Linked DNA regions of Homo sapiens: region 1 is linked to region 2. Evidence: promoter capture Hi-C in human tissues and cell types (Jung and others, 2019). All regions are on one chromosome and are shown on one strand. The core of a region is centred on a gene start or on the middle of the fragment in contact, and the rest is flanking DNA. Distances in the headings are between cores, read along the strand shown.

What was found. Contacts are between HindIII fragments. The study calls those that stand out against the background at their distance.
Region 1: a contact is called between a fragment that was not itself captured here and the fragment with the promoter of LAMP1 in region 2, in 2 of the 25 tissues and cell types used here (aorta and dorsolateral prefrontal cortex).

Annotation. Positions count from the first base shown.
Region 1 is chr13:113,477,613-113,480,312 of GRCh38, reverse strand. All of the region lies in intron 3 of DCUN1D2 (defective in cullin neddylation 1 domain containing 2), which reads left to right. It also overlaps the pseudogene RNU1-16P. Among named protein-coding and RNA genes, the nearest start is that of DCUN1D2, 12 kb to the left of the region's middle. The HindIII fragment of the contact is 4,398 bases long and covers 1-2,700 here.
Region 2 is chr13:113,295,989-113,298,688 of GRCh38, reverse strand. It overlaps LAMP1 (lysosomal associated membrane protein 1), which reads right to left and starts at 1,450. Exons shown (of 9, transcript NM_005561.4): 1 at 1,194-1,450. The coding sequence starts at 1,254. RefSeq lists an enhancer at 630-809 and a silencer at 1,040-1,319. The HindIII fragment of the contact is 17,303 bases long and covers 1-2,700 here.

The DNA.
Region 1 (2,700 bases), core at 88-2,587, 180 kb before region 2:
CTTTCCAATTTTGAATTGACAGTAAATGCCAGGTTCAGTTCATTCGTGTTATTTCATAATACTGTATATTAAACGTAGAATTTCTTATGCTGCTCTGTTAAAAACTAAGATGTCATTTTGGTTTTTGCTTGTAACATTTTTCTATTCTACCTACAGGATTGGGATAAAGGCTTCATTAATAACTTAAGGTGTTTCTCGCTTATCAGATAAGTTATAAAAGTAAATGAAAGGGCCTAATGTAACTGTCTCTTAATCATTAAGCTTACTGAACTACAGTCATGCACTACATAATGACATTTCGGTCAACAGTGGACCGCTTATACAACAGTGGTCCCGTAAGGTTAGAATGGGGCTAAAAAATTCCTACATCCCAGCCATCATAGTGTCATAGCACAATACATTGCCTGTGTGTGGTGATGCTGGCACAGACAAACCTACTGCACTGCCAGTCGTATAAAAAGCATAGCGCATCCAGTTATGTGCAGTATATAATACTTGATAATATAAAGGCTTATGTTACTAGCTTATTTACTCAACTTTTTATTATTTTCGAGTGTACTCCTACTTGTTTGTTTGTTTGTTTGTTTTTTGAGATGGAGTCTTACTCTGTCACCCAGGATGGAGTGCAGTGGCACGATCTTGGCTCACAGCAAACTCCGTCTCCTGAGTTCAAGCGATTCTCATGCCTCATGCCCGGCTAATTTTTGTATTTTTAGTAGAGACGGGATTTCACCATATTGGCCAGGCTGGTTTTGAACTCCTGACTTCAGGGGACACACCACCTTGCCTCATCAGCCTCCCAAAGTGCTGGGATTACAGGCGGGAGCCACCGTGCCTGGCCCAGATGGATTTTTAAATATCACCTGTTCATATTGTTTAAAATAGATACAACTAAAACAGCTTTGAGGCATACAGGAACTCTACAGATAAGGAGGACCATTTCATAATGATAAAGGGCTTATCTCACCAAGAAGGCAGTCACACTTACGTTTTTATGTATTTGTTGAAGAGTCCCAATGTATTTAAAGCAAAAATAAGCAACTACAAAGAGAAAGATACAAATCCATGATCAAAGTGAGGAATTTTCACACACATCGTAGTAACTGATGGAATGAGTCAATGAAAAATTAGTGAGGAAATAGAAGATTTGGACAGCACAACAAATGGCCTAGGAGAACATTTAGAATGTTGCCTTCGATGCTTAAGAATACATATTCTTTTCAAAAGAAAACACAGAACAGCCTGGCAGGAGAGATACCATCATCATGAAGGTGATTTTCCCAGAGCTGGGCTTATCCATTGCATTCTGGATGTGCTGACGCCTGTGGTTTTCCCAAATGTGGGAAACTGGACTGCATAATTTGTGGTAGTGGGGGACTATGTTCGTGTTCTCTCCTGGTGTTTAAAATTAAAAAAAAAAAAACTTTATTAAAGGCACAGAACATTAATAAAAATTGACAATAAACTGGGCTATTAAGTAAATTGCAACAATTTCCAGAGGTTTGAAATGATACAGAGTATGTTTTCTGACCACAGTACAGTTAAACTAGGAATATAACAAAAAGATAACTAGGGATATGTGTGGATATTGCATACCTCTAAGTAACCCTTGGGATGAGAAAGAAATTACAATGGAAATTAGAAAATATCTTGAATAATGAAAATACAATATATGTAAGCTTGTAGAATTCAGCTTATTAAATGCATATTTTAGAAAGAAGGAAAGGCTGAAAATCAGTGAGCAAAGCCTTCCATCTCAAGAAATAGAAAAAGAATATAGAAGGAAGGAATTAATATTTTTAAAGAAGCACTAATTTACAAGAATAATTAAATAGAAAAGAAGTTGTCATTAGGAAGGATCAATAAAGCTAGAAGCTTGTTATTTGAAAAGACTTGTAAATGTGGTAAATCACAAGTAACGTACGTAGATGAAAAGGGGGACGAGATAATAGGTGCCAGAAGCATTAAAAAAAAAAAAGTCATGTATGAAGAGCTTTATGCCAGTAAATTTGACAACGTATGTGAAAAATGTAATTTACTAAAACTGACACATGAAGAAATAGAACATCTTAATAGTTCTGTAACTCTTAAGAATTTGAGCCTGTAGTTTAAAATCTTCTCAAAGAGACAACTCCTGTTTGGGATGACTTAATTGGCACATCCTACCAAACTCCTAATGAAAAGGAAAATCCCCAATTTTAAACATCCTCTTCCAGAGAAGTAAAGGAAGAAAGATTTCACAATTTGTTTTTAAGGCCAGCAAAAGCTGCATGACAAAACCAAGGAAGAACATTTGAGAATGGAAAATTATAGGCCACTCTCAGCTGTAAGACTCAGAAGATGCATAAGATGATTATAAGATGCAAAAATCCTACACACAGTATCAGGAAACTGACCAGTCATTAGCAAAAAACCCAAGACGATAAGCCCAGGATGATACATCATGACAGAGTTGGTTATATCCAGGAATGCAAGATCCGTTTAATGTTACAGAGTCAATCGGTGTAATTAATTTACCATGGTTAACAACAGGAAAAAAAGGATCATCCCAGTGCATAAGATGGGTTTGATCAAATTCAATGTTTCTTCATTTAAAAAAAAAAAAAAAAACTCATAGAAAACTAAGAATAAGAGGGGCAGTTCTTAATCTGGCCAAAAGGAAAAAATTCCTATGGAAAACATTATACTTACTGGAATTGT
Region 2 (2,700 bases), core at 201-2,700:
TGGAATAAGTTCATCTCTGTGGCTATTCAGGCAGTTCAAAGAATTCATTTTACACAACAGGCAAAACAAAAAAGGGAAGCCAAGATCCATTCACTCACAGTAACAGAGTTTTACAGCTGGATGGGACTGAGGGATTTAAAGAAGTCAAGGCAGATGTGTACAGGAGTGTATTTCTATATCTACTTAACTCACACACACTCCCCCAGCTTGATTCTACATCACCTTTCAGATCCTGGCATTTAAGATAATCTTCTCATATTACGGGGGAGGGCGGCGGGGGGAGGAGGTGAAAGAATAGTGTTGGCGGGGGGCAATCCGGACTGTCTTAAAGAGACAGCACACATCCTCTTATTAAGACAATAAATGAGAACGAAATTCACTAGTCAATACAATATTGAGCACCTACTGCCCATCTGAGCTCTATAAACTGACAGAAGAGAAGGGTGCTTCCCCACGTGTTCCCTGGTCCCGCATTTCGGCCTACAGGAACGGCGCTCTTTAAACTACTTACTAGACATGAACATTGCCACCGTGAGTCTGAGGCCAGCTTTCCCTCATCTTGTCTACTACGGAATCTTGTGAAATCCCAAAGATAACTTTAAAAATTATTTTAACATACATGTGAATTCACAATAACATAAATACACTCGCATCTCCTCCACACCGCTGAAAGAGGAGAAAGGTTCAAGTACAAAGGTGGGGAATGCTCGCACCGGCTTCTCCCTGTCCTGGGTGAAATCCATGTTGGGAAGAGCTTGATCTAGGTCACCCACCCGGGAGCTGAGACCACAGACGTCCCTGCCACCTTCGGCGGCGCAGCCTCGTCTAGATCTCACCGCCTCAACTTGCCAGGAAACTTAACGACCTGAAAGCACCAGACCGCCGAGCAAGCCATCGGAAGTTCCCTTTCGCACTCACCACCACAGAAAAACTGAGTTCAGTGAGACAGACCTTAGAGGAGCCAGGTCCTGGGATGAGACCTCCTGGTCCCCCAAGCACCTGCCATTGAGCTCCGCTCCGACCCTACGACCCCGAGAGAAACACCCGCCCGCGGGCAGAGCCGGCCGGGACCAGGAGCAGTGGGTGCGGGGCGACCCGCGGGACAACGACCCGGCAGTCCCCCGCCCTCAAGACCCAGGGACCTCGGCTCCGCCCGGTCCCGCCGCTCCCAGGCCCCGCCTCGACCCCCTCACCGAGCAGCAGCAACAGCAGTAGCAGCAGCAGGGGTCGCCGGGCGCTGCCGGGGGCCGCCATGGCGCGAGGCGGCCGGGTACGGTGCGGGGAGCGGGGGCGCGGGCGGCGGTTGGGCCGCGGACTGCCGGGCGCTGCGGTGGCGGGGCGCGGGCGCCAAGGGCTGGCGTTAGAGACAGCGGCGTTACCAGACGCAAGAGGCCCGGCCACTGCGACGCCGGCACGAAGAAGACACCGCGGCCGGCAGCGCTTGTCACGTGAGCTGCGCCGCGCCCGGGCGTCACGTGATCCCGCGGGTCTCGCGAGAGCGCGCGCGTCGAGCGCCGGCGGCTCGGCTCCCCGCAGGTGCGGCAGCTTCCAGCACCGCGCGCCCCCTCACGCGTGATGCAGGCCGACACGTGACCCGCAGCGGCACGTGACCCGCAGCGGCACGTGACCCTGGACCCACGTGACCCGGCCTGGTCCGGGGGACTGGGGCCGAGCCGAGGTCCTGAAACGGGAAGTGGGCTGGGTTCGCGGAAAAGGAAGAGGAAGAGTAGTGGCGGGAGAAAGTGAGGAAAGAGGAAGCCCGCGAGGGGAGAAAGGGCAGACGGATCGCGGACGCCCAGGCCTCCCTTCAGCCTGCGAGGCGTCCCAAACGCGGGCTCTTTATGGACAGGAGGGTGGTGTGGGTGGCAGCGCGGGTGACCGGCCGGGTGCGCGGCCAGGGATGGGCGAAGGGTTTGTCTTTTGGTGAGTGGGAAGCAAGTTCCTCACACAGGGAGGCCACTGTGCCCAAACTCTTGAGTGGTTTTAGGAAGGAAATAAGGGATCTGAAATGGGTCAGTGCGGCCTTCCGCTCGTTAATCGCGGGCTGAGGGAAGACGGCACCAGGCTGCCCAAGGTGAAGGTGAAGGTGCGATGGCGATACTCTTTGGCTTACAGAAAGTTCCTGTCGAGCACTTTGTTTTTTTTTTTGAGACGGAGTCTCGCTCTGTCGCCCAGGCTGGAGTGCAGTGGCGCGATCTCGGCTCGCTGTAACCTCCGCCTCCCGGGTTCAAGCGATTCTCTTGCCTCAGCCTCCCAAGTAGCTGGGATTACAGGCGTGCGCCACCACGCCCGGCTGATTTTGTATGTTGAGTAGAGACGGGGTTTCACCAGTTGGCCAGGCTGGTCTCGAACTCCTGACCTCAAGCAATCCACCCGCCTCGGCCTCCCAAAGTGCTGAGATTACAGCCCTGAGCCACGGCGCCTGGCTCCTGCATTTTAGAAGTCTGAAGATGCTCTGTTTTTTGGCTTGTCATCATATAGGATTTATGGCCTTTTGTTAAAATACTATTTAATTAAGGCCCCTACGCTACTGCTTTGTATAAAGCACCCGTCGCATAAGTACCTACATCTTAGAAAAAGATTTAATCTTACATTTCAAAAGGCATCATAGCAACGGGGACTGGATGTGCACCTAGTTAATAGAGACAGCACTCAGCCAGATAAAGACAGGACCAGGCACTCACTATCAGTCCTCACCAG